Regions from separate parts of the Homo sapiens genome. Here all the other regions are linked to region 3. The links are contacts of gene promoters, found by promoter capture Hi-C in human tissues and cell types (Jung and others, 2019). All regions are on one chromosome and are shown on one strand. The core of a region is centred on a gene start or on the middle of the fragment in contact, and the rest is flanking DNA. Distances in the headings are between cores, read along the strand shown.

What was found. The method cuts DNA at HindIII sites, captures the fragments that hold promoters and counts their contacts. A contact is called where the count stands out against the background at its distance.
Region 1: a contact is called between a fragment that was not itself captured here and the fragment with the promoter of ERV3-1 in region 3, in 2 of the 25 tissues and cell types used here (heart right ventricle and mesendoderm cells).
Region 2: a fragment that was not itself captured here is called in contact with the fragment with the promoter of ERV3-1 in region 3 in 2 of the 25 tissues and cell types used here (mesenchymal stem cells and mesendoderm cells).
Region 4: a contact is called between a fragment that was not itself captured here and the fragment with the promoter of ERV3-1 in region 3, in 1 of the 25 tissues and cell types used here (lymphoblastoid cells).

Annotation. Positions count from the first base shown.
Region 1 is chr7:65,390,347-65,393,057 of GRCh38, reverse strand. The region is part of intron 3 of ZNF92 (zinc finger protein 92); the gene reads right to left. Among named protein-coding and RNA genes, the nearest start is that of ZNF92, 18 kb to the right of the region's middle. The HindIII fragment of the contact is 6,786 bases long and covers 1-2,711 here.
Region 2 is chr7:64,708,331-64,711,030 of GRCh38, reverse strand. It overlaps ZNF107 (zinc finger protein 107), which reads right to left. Exons shown (of 4, transcript NM_001282359.2): 4 at 1-2,700. The coding sequence ends at 2,375. Among named protein-coding and RNA genes, the nearest start is that of MIR6839, 31 kb to the right of the region's middle. The HindIII fragment of the contact is 5,049 bases long and covers 1-2,700 here.
Region 3 is chr7:65,005,237-65,007,936 of GRCh38, reverse strand. It overlaps ERV3-1 (endogenous retrovirus group 3 member 1, envelope), which reads left to right and starts at 1,250. Exons shown (of 2, transcript NM_001007253.4): 1 at 1,250-1,396. ERV3-1-ZNF117 (ERV3-1-ZNF117 readthrough) reads left to right here and starts at 1,191. Exons shown (of 4, transcript NM_001348050.2): 1 at 1,191-1,396. RefSeq lists a silencer at 990-1,159 and an enhancer at 1,260-1,319. The HindIII fragment of the contact is 15,538 bases long and covers 1-2,700 here.
Region 4 is chr7:65,336,211-65,338,910 of GRCh38, reverse strand. It overlaps LOC105375334 (a long non-coding RNA gene), which reads right to left. Exons shown (of 6, transcript XR_927613.3): 5 at 295-379. Among named protein-coding and RNA genes, the nearest start is that of ZNF92, 36 kb to the left of the region's middle. The HindIII fragment of the contact is 7,550 bases long and covers 1-2,700 here.

The DNA of each region.
Region 1 (2,711 bases), core at 183-2,682, 380 kb before region 3:
TTTTGGAGACAGGGTCCCACTTGTCACCCAAGCTGCAGTGCAGTGGCACAATTAAGGCTCACTGCAGCCTCAAACTTCCAGGCTTAAGTAATCCTCTCCCCTCAATCTCCCAAGTAGCTGGGACCACAGGTGACAACCACCATGTCAGGCTATTTTTTTGAAAAGTTGTAGAGAGAGGGTCTCCACATGCTGTCCAAGCTGGCCTCAAACATTTGGGCTCTGGCCGGGCACGGTGGCTCACTCCTGTAATCCCAGCACTTTTGGGAGGCTGAGGTGGGTGGATCACCTGAGGTCGGGAGGTGGAGAACAGCCTGACCAACATGGAGAAACCCTGTCTCTACTAAAAATACAAAATTAGCCAGGCATGGTAGCACATGCCTGTAATCCCATCTACTCAGGAGGCTGAGGCAGGAGAATCACTTGAACTCAGGAGGCGGAGGTTACGGTGAGCTGAGATGACACCATTGTACTCCAGCCTGGGCAACAAAAGCAAAACTCCATCTCAAAAAAAAAAAAAAATGTGGGCTCAAGTGATGCTCCTGTCTTGGCCTCCCAAAATCTGAGGATTACAGATGTGAGCCACCACCATGCCTGGCAATGAAATGTAAACTTAAATAGATTTAAGATGGTAAATTTTAGGTTATGTGTTTTTACAACAATTATTTTTTAAAAGAAAAACTAAAAAAAAAAAAAATAGAATTACAAATATTTCCAAAAATTACCTTCAAATTACAAAAATGTTTCTCTTACCCAAAGGAAATTATACAATATTTATCATTAAACACATGGTAGAAAGACTATTTCCATGACTACTCACTTAGACAAAACAACCATTGAAAATCAGCTAAGAAAGAATATACACAAGATATGCCATAACCAAAATTAAAGTCATATTAATAGATAAAAACACACACATATATAATCAGACTATGATGGACATATGGCTGACTTATTTCCCAGTTAAACCCAACATTCACTTAAAGTGTACAAACAGAAGTGCAAATTGCTAAAACCGTAAAAACAAGAAACAAAAACTGATAAGAAACCTACACTAAACAAAAAACACTAATATGGAACTGTAAAACATTAAAAGAAATGTTTACTCATAAAACCTGGTTTGCAATATTGATGTACCATTAAAAAGAATTTGTCTAGATAACTGCAATATTTGAGTGTAACTGTGTACTCATGGAAGGCAAGTATTTGAATCACTGGCATGCACTGTATGGCAGTAAAATTTCAGAGAAAATGCAGTATAACCATACATAGAAGATTCTAATAAAAAACTTAATAAGTAAGCATTTTTAAAAATTGAGATAATTTTTATGTTTTAAATATATGCTATTCTTACACTAGATGAAACTGCTGCAATCCAACTATAGAAGCAAAGAATAGCCTTACGTTGCCAAATAAAGAAAAAATTTTTATTTTGCTGAATATGGTTAGTGCCTCTGATAGATAAAACAAATATTTGGGGGATACATTATGTTATTACTTAGATATAGGCTAAAAAGTGGGTGAAAATACTATTCCTTTTTGCCTGCCGCAAACTTAAATTTATAAGTAACTATTTTAGTAATTATGGAGTAAATTATCTAATTTACTTCAGGCATAACATGTAAATTCTAGCATATTGTCCCAAAGGTCTGATTCTAAAGTTACAGACAAATTTGAAATAGAAAATAGAAAGTAAAAATGTATAGGAAGAGTGACATCAGGAAGATAGGACAATAAAAGTTGCCTTATTTTGTTATCCTCCAACAGCAAGAAAATTTGTCAGCCATCCCTCATAAAAAGGCCTTTTGAGAGAGCCAGGCATCATGGCTCACACCTGTAATGAAAGCTTTATCATACATTGAGGTTGGAGATTGCTTCAGGCCAGGATTTCAAGACCAGAATGGGTTATGAAGCAAGACCCCATCTCAAAAATAAGCGCCTTTAAGAGAGCTTTGAGATCCAGGGAGGGAGTTGTGAAATGCTAAACCCAAGATTGAGGAGTGTTGTTTTTAGAAGGCAGGCCCTCATTCAGGCGGCAAACTAAAGGACTCCTGTTCTTGGCTACAGACCAGAAAATGGCCCACCAAACTTGGTCCCACTGAGAATTCTGAACTTACTCTGCAACCATCCCAAACTTCTCCCAGCCACAGTCTGGAAAAGGTCCTGCCCTTCCAGCGGCCTGGAGGAAGACAACCATTTATAGCCATGCAGGCAGGCCGGCTTGCAGACCTTGGCCTTTACTGTGGTCTCTGAAGCAGTTTAATGACTCAGTTCCAACTCTCTGAGCCACAGTTTATGGCCAGTTATATCTACACAGAAACCTACACAGTGGCCTGGGGAAATCCTCTCTGGTACTCAGTGAAAGCCACACTCATCCACATCCTGATACAAGGTCCATTATATGCAGACCCGACTACAGAAACCTGCCCTAGTGTCTGCCCGACAGAGCAAAGTCCTGGAGGATATTCAGTCTGTCTAAAAATAAAATGGAAATTACAAATACCCAAGCCCCTTGTAATAAGCCAGTAAAGGTGGACCCTAGTGTAGACCCAGCAGCCTTGTGACCAAGCTACACCCCTCTCCACTACAAACCCAGAGGGCATCCCATCACCGTGGGAACCCAACAAAAGATCTTTACCTTCTAAAACCAGTTTATAAAAACCTGAAGAGCTGTTTGCTCCTTCAAATTTACAGACACCAATGCAAAACTATAT
Region 2 (2,700 bases), core at 115-2,614, 300 kb after region 3:
AAAATTTTTAAACACATTGCATTTTATTACATAAAAGTACAAATAGTAAAATGATATACTACTAATTCACTTTAATTTTAACTAAGATTAAAAATGGTTTTCTCTTACTATAATGCAGAAGAATATTGCTCTGAAAACCTACTTCATGGATCACTCAATATTATAAGTTAAACACAAACAGCCTCTTCACTCAGGTTTTCATCATGCATCTTACATTTTAATGTCCTTATTCTTTCATAGAAAGTGTCATAAATAATACCGACCTAACAGAAATGATTTCTCATATCTTTGATGCATGAAAAATTAATCACATGCTTTCACATGTGAATACAATAGGAATGAAGAGCATGAATTTGAGTTGAATTACATCATTTGCTTTTCAAAAACTAATTTTTCAAGAAAAAATATAATTTGAATGTAATTATACATCTACAAAAAAATTCTACTTCTTTTAAAGTTATATACACATTATTTACCTACCAACTTTAGTTTTAAATTATTTTCTATACTCAGCATTCTGATTCTATACTCAGCAATGTCTGAAGTGTCAGTACCTTAGATATTTCTACTGTGAATTCTCTGATATTTATATAGACTTAATTTTGGATTAAATTATTTTTATATTTACTTCACTTGCAAAAATATATTTTAGTATGAGGCCTCTGGTATTTTCTAAGCTGTAGTTTTTTAAAAAATGTTTTCACAAATGCATTACATTTACAGTGCTTTTCTCCAATATAAATTTTCTGGTGTTGAACAACATTTGAGCAACTGCTTCATGGTTTTCCTCTAGTGCAAAATGGGTACAAAAGTATCTGTGATACAAGTAAAGGTACTACAACCCTCTTCGTATTTGTATTGTTTGTCCTCACAATGAATACTCTTTTTTTGTTTTGTTTTTGAGACGAAGTTTTTGCTCTTGTTGCTTTGGCTGGAGTGTAGTGGTGTGATTTCAGCTCACTGCAATCTTCGCCTCCCAGGTTTGAGCAATTCTCCTGCTTCAGCCTCCCAATTAGCTGGGATTACAGGGGCCTGCCACCACACGCAGCTAATTTTTGTAAAATTTTTAATAGAGATGGGGTTTTGCTATGTTGGCCAGGCTGGTCTCAGACTCCTGCCCTCAGGTGATCCACCCACCTTGGCCTCCCAAAGTGCTGGCATTACAGATGTGAGCCAGCACAACTGGCTCCTCTTCTTCACTTTAAAGGCTTATATTTTCTGAAAGATCTCTTGACAAAAATTGCATTTATAATGCTTTTATTACGTACTAACTCTCTAATGTTGAGTAAAATCTGAGCAGATAATAATGGCTTTTCCACATTCCTTGTATTTGTACAATCTTTCTGAAGTATAAATGCTTTCCTGTGCAATAAGGGGTGAGCATTTATTAAAAGTGTTGCCACATTTTTTACACTTCCAGGAGTTTTCTTCAGTATGGATTCTTACCTACAATCAAGTGTGACAACCATTTAAAGGCTTTGTGATATTTTTCACATTTCTAGGATTTTTCACCAGTATGATTTATGTTAGAAAGTTCGAGGTGTTGTCAAAATTATTGTCACATCATTCAGGTTTGTAAAGTTTTCAGTATTATCTTATGTTTAGTGAGGTTTGAGGATTGGTTTAAAGTATTGCCACATTATTCACATTTGCAGGGTTTCTCTCAAAGTATAAACTGTCTTATATGTAGCAAGGTGTGAGGACCAGTTAAAGGCATTGCCACGTTTTTTACATTTGTAGGGTTTCTTTCCAGTATAAATACTCTTACATGTAGTAAGAGTTGAGAATCAGTTAAAAGCTTTGCCACAGACTTCACATTTGTAGGGTTTCTTTCCAGTATGAATTTTCTTATCTACAGTTAAGGGTTAAGGAAGGTTAAAAGCTTTGCCACATTCTTCACAATTGTAGGCTTTCTCTCCAGTATGAATTTCTGTATAGTAAGGTATGAGGATTGGTTAAAAGCTTTGCCACATTCTTCACAACTATAGAGTTCCTCTCCAGTATAAATTATCTTATGTGTAGAAAGGTGTGAGGACTGATTAAAGGCATTGCCACATTCTTCTCATTTGTATGGCTTTTCTCCAGTATGAATTACCTTATGTTTAGTAAAAGTTGAGGATCAGTTAAAGGATTTGCCACATTTTTCACATTTGTAGGATTCTCTCCAGTACGAATTTTCTCAACTTTCAGTAAGGTTTGAAGATTAGTTAAAAGCTGTGCCACATTCTTTACATTGTAAGGTTTCTCACCAGTATAAAATACCTCGTGTGTGCAGAAAAAGTTGAAGACTTGTTAAAGGCTTTAACACATTCTTCACATTTGTAGTTTCTCTCCAGTATGAATTTTCCTATGTGTAGTAAGCTTGTAGGATCAATTAAGTTTTGCCATACTCACATTTGTAGGGTTTCTCTCCAGTATGAATTTTCTTATGTGTAGTAAGATTTGAGGATAGGTTGAAAGCTCTGCCATAATCTCCACATTTGTAGGGTTTCTCTCCAGTATGAATTATCTTATGTATATTAAGAGATGAGAACTGGTTAAAGGATTTGCCACATTCTTCACATTTGTAGGGTTTCTCTGAAGTATGAATTTTCTTATGTGTAGTAAGGTTTGAGGATTGGTTAAAAGCTTTGCCACATTCTTCACATTTATAGGGTTTCTCTCCAGTATGAATTTTCTTATGTGCAGTAAGGGTTGAGG
Region 3 (2,700 bases), core at 1-2,500:
TTGAACTCGTGAGCTCAAGTTATCCTCCCAGCTCAGCCTCCTGAGTAGCTGGGACCACAGGTGCACACCAACACGCCTTGCTAACTTTTATTTTTATTTTTGAGACACAGTCTCGCTCTGTCACCCAGGCTGGAGTGCAATGGTGCGTTCTTGGCTCACTGCAACCTCCACCTCCTGGGTTCAAGTGACCCTCCTGCCTCAGCCTCCCAAGTAGCTGGAATTACAGGTGCACGCCACCAGGCCCAGCTAATTTTTGTATTTTTATAGAGACAGGGTTTCACCATGTTGGCCAGGCTGGTCTTGAACTCCTGACCTCAGGTGATCCGCCCACCTCAGCCTCCCAAAGTGCTGAGATTACAGGCGTGAGCCACCGTACCCAGCCCATGGCTAATTTTTAAACTTTTTTGTAGAGATGGAGTCTCACTATGTTGCCCAGGCTGGTCTCAAGCTCCTGGCTTCAAGCAGTCCTCCCACCTCAGCCTCCCAAAGTGCTGGGATTACAGGCATGAGCCACCATGCCCAGCCGCAGAAGGGCAATTATTACACAGTGACAGTGGAAGGAACAGAGACACAGTCGGTGGATGGTGGGAAGATAAGAACATTCACTCTGAGGGCTTCTAGTAACGTTGGAGAAGTGAGCATCAGCTTAGCAGAAGGGAGGGAGGGAAGGAAGCACAGGAGGTTTGAGGAGAGAGAGAGAGGAAGTATGAAATCAGAGCTGCACTTCAATGTGGTGGCTATTGGCCATGTGTGGCTACAGGATAGCTGGAATATGGCTGGTCTGAACTGCGATGTGCTAGAAAGGTAAAATACAGGGTTAGATTTAAAGATTTAGTTCCAAGAATATATACACTACATTAATAATTACATATTGCTCCTATACTAAAATAATATTTTGGATATATTGGGTTATTAAATGGTTAGAATGAATTTCACCTGTTTCTTCTTTCTTCTTAACTACTAGAAAATTTAGAATTCACACATGGCTCACATTTTATTTCAGACGGTTGCCTTACAAGGCAAATGCCGTCTGGGGAGGGCCTGGGTCAGCTCAGGGAGGAAGCTCTGCCTGAAAAGGCTTAGGGTTCACTCTACATTCAGCCCAGCATCTGAGCACGTCTTCTGTCAATCAAGGCCTGAGAGGGTGGGGCCCTAAACATTATCCAATCAGGGACGCTGGGCTGGGACCCGTCCAATCAGGCACTCAGCTGGAGCAGACAGGACGGCTTCCGGGTTTGGTGGGGCCTTTGTCTCTGGCGGCAGCCGGAGCTTCTGGTGTAGTCTTCACTGCTCTGTGTCTTCTGCTCCTAGAGGCCCAGCTTCTGTGGCCTCGTTACCTGCAGGTATTGGGAGATCCACAGCTAAGACGCCAGGACCCACTGGAAGCCTAGAAATGGTGAGAGTGCCGGGTCCGACATCCCGAGAGAGGGGGCGGGGCTGGTTGGAACTGGTGGGAAGTGGCTGTGGCGGGACTCTGGCCTCCCCGCAGCTGGCTCCAAAATCCGCGGCCCCGAGTTCTCCTTGGCGCAGCTCGGCCCTCAGTCCCCTTCAGCCATAGGATGGCGGCCGGGCTGACAGCTCGGACCCCGGGCATCCTGTCTCCTCCCTGCGCAGTGACTGTGCCTTGTTCTGGAGTCCTCTGTGGGCAGCTCTGCCCCCACTGCCGCAGCTCTCCCCGATTGTGCAGGGACCACTGGACGGTCGTCAGGGGAGAATACTGACTCAGGATGCAGAGTTCATGAATGGGAAGAGCTTTGGTCTGCGGGGTTCCCAGTCCCCCTTTTTTTCTATTAAAAATTTGTGGAAGTCTCCGCAGAAATATTAAAGAATTTAATTAAAGAGTAATTCAAGAATTGTAGAGCACCAAGCTATGTTTTGTAGTTTGTGGTTTATGGAAGGGGCTTGAAGAAAACACTTTTATAAAGTGCATGATAAAGGAAAGCAAATTCAATAATTGGTTAGGTAAAGTTATGTAGTTTCTTAATTTGTACGATCAAGGTGGAAATTCCCTGGTCATGTAATGAGAGGTTAATTGGCAGTTTATAGTTGGTTAAGCCTGAATTTTATTTTCCCCCAATGTAATACTTTAGAAAAAAATCATTCGAGTTAGATTTTTTTGCAAGTAGCAACCCTAGGACTGGAGCCACCTCAGTCTAATTGCCTGCCACTTAATTATTTTCACACTCCACAGGGCACTGATTTTCCTCTGCATTTTTCACTTCTGTCTCAAGCAGGGTCTCAAGACTTCTCCCCATTTCCCATTCCTCCAGCCTAACTCTGGCTTGCAGTAAAATACTAAATTTCCAGTTCCTTCTGACATTCCCAAATGCCAATTTCCCCTCCCTAATTCACATTATCAACTATTTGTCCTTTAATGTACACTTTAGTGTACATTTTAGGTACCATATTTTAATTAATCATTTTTTGACAAAGCATTGGCTGGCATTTTAAAAAAGATTTGTTTTCTGTTTGTAAAGATTTCCCAAGAGAAGAAAGCAAAGAATAATCCCCTGACACTGTATTGTAAAAAATGTTCTGTGCCTCCTTTCCTTTTATTGCCTCTAGCCACAGAAACCTTATCAGAATATTTTTGGGTCAGGGTTTCCCTTTGGAAACTTTATAAGGTAATGTGTCCTCAGCCACCCTTCAGTTTTTTCCCTGGTTCTGGGTTTCAGTACTGTCTGGGGATAAATCAAGATA
Region 4 (2,700 bases), core at 65-2,564, 330 kb before region 3:
TGGACTTAAGTTCCTAGTACTTGGTACACCATGAAGGGTTTCCAGCATCTGTGTCCTCCCTCTGCCCACTTGCAATGCATTTCATCTGAAGATAGGCTCAGAATGGGATGGAAATTTCAATGTCTCAGTGTCTTGTCAGTTGTTTCCCCTGGCTGTGTCTAGTCAGTCATCTTGGCTCCCAATTGAAACTTAGTCTTTTAACAAAACAGACAGTATTAGTCCATTCCCACAATGTTATAAAAATACTAACCAAGACTGGGTAATTTGTAAACAAAGGAGGTTTAATTGACTTACGGTTCTGCATGGCTGGGGAGGTCTCAGGAAACTTGTAATCATGGTGAAAGCAGAAGTAGGCATGTCTTACACAGCAGCAGGTGAGCTAGAGCATGGAAGAACAGGGAAAACTGCCTTATAAGACCATCAGGTCTCATGAGCATTCACTCACTATCACAGGAACAGCATGGGGGAAACCACCCCATAATCAAATCACTTCCCACAAGGTCTCTTCGTAAACACCTGGGGATTACAATTCAAGATGAGATATGAGTGGGGATGCAAAGCCTAACTATATCCTTCCACTCCTGGCCTCTCCCAAATCTCATATCTCTTTGACATTTTAAAACAAATCATGCCTTCACAACAGTTCCCCAAAGTCTTAATTTATTCCAGCATTAACCCAAAAGTCCAAGTCCAAAGTCTCATTCGAGAAAAGGAAAGTCTTTTCTGCCCAGCAGCCTGTAAAATTAAAAGCCAGTTAGTTACTTCCAAGATACAATGGAGGTACAGGCACTGGATAAATGCTCCCATTCCAAATGGGAGAAATTGGCTAAAACAAAGGGGCTACGGGCCACACTTAAGTCTGAAATCCAGTGGGGCAGTCATTAAATCTTAAAGCACTGAAATAATCTCCTTTGACTTCGTGTCTCACATCCAGGTCACACTGAGGAAAGAAGAGATGGGCTCCCACAGCCTTGGCGAGCTTCACTCCTGTGGTTTCGCAGGGTACAGCCCTTGCCCCCTGGCTACTTTCACAGGCTGGCATTAAGTGTCTTTGGCTTTTTGAGGTGCGTGGTGCAAGCTGTTGGTGGATCTAGCATTCTAGGGTCTGGAGGATGGTGACCCTCTTTTCACAGCTCCACTAGGCAGTACTCCAGTGCTGACTCTGCATGAGGGCTCCAACCCCAAACTTCCCTTCCACACTGCCCTAGCAGAGGTTTGCTATGAGGGGTCCACCTCTGCAGTGAACTTCTGCCTAGACAGCTAGGCATTTCCGCCATCTCGGCTCACTGCAACCTCCACCTCCTGGGTTCAAGCAATTCTCCTGCCTCAGCCTCCTGAGTAGCTGGGACTACAAGCGCCCACCACCACGCTTAGCTAATTTTTGTTTTTCTTTTTTTTTTTTTTTTTTTTGAGACGGAGTCTCGCACTGCTGCCCAGGCTGGATGGTGCAGTGGCACAATCTCAGCTCACTGCAAGCTCCACCTCCCGGGTTCACGCCATTCTCCTGCCTCAGCCTCCCGAGTAGCTGGGACTACAGGCGCTCGCCACCACATCCAGCTAATTTTTTTTGTATTTTTAGTAGAGATGGGGTTTCACAGTGTTAGCCAGGATAATCTCAATCTCCTGACCTTGTGATCCGCTTGCCTTGGCCTCCCAAAGTGCTGGGATTACAGGCGTGAGCCATTGTGCCCAGGCCAATTTTTGTATTTTTAGTGGAGACGGAGTTTCGCCAAGTTGGCCAGGCTGGTCTCGAACTCCTGACCTCAGGTGATCCGCCTGCCTCAGCCTCTCAAAGTGCTGGGAAGTTCCGATTTTAAATGAGCTCCTTGTGAATGCATAAAACTGAATGCTTTCAGAATAACCCAGGTCACATCTTGAATGCTTTGATGCTTAGAAATGTCTCCCACCAGATATCCTAAATCATCTCTCTGAAGTTCGAAGTTTCACACCATCTCTAGGGCAGGGGCAAAATACCACCAGCCTCTTTGCTAAAACATAGCAGGAGTGATCTTTACTCTAGGTCCCAATAAGTTCCTCATCTCCATCTGAGACCACCTCAGCCTGGACTTCATTGTTTACATCACTATCAGCATTTTGGTCAAAATCATTCAACAAGTCTCTAGGAAGCTCCAAACTGTCCCACATCTTCCTGTCTTCTTCTGAGCTCTCCAAATTCCTACAACCTCTGCCCACTACCCAGTTCCATAGTCATCTCAACATTTTCAAGTATCCTTATAGCAGTACCCTACTCTATGCAGTACCAATTTCCTGTATTAGTTCATTTTCACACTGCTATAAAGATACTACCTGAGGCCAGGCACAGTAGCTCATGCCTGTAATCCCAGCACTTTGGGAGGGTCAGGCAGGTGGATCACCCGAGGTCAGAAGTTCGAGACCAGCCTGGCCAACACGACAAAACCCTGTCTCTACTAAAAATACAAAAATTAGATGGGCATGGCGGCATACACCTGTAGTCCCAGCTACTCAGGAGACTGAGGCAGGAGAATCACTTGAACCTGGGAGGCAGAGGTTGCAGTGAGCCAAGATCATGCCACTGCCCTCCATCCAGGGTGACAGAGCAAGGCCCTATCTCAAAAACAAAGCAAACAAACAAAAAACATACTACCCGAGACTGGGTAATTTTTTTTTTTCTTGAGACGGAGTTTCACTCTTTAGCCCACGCTGGGGTGAAGTGGTGTA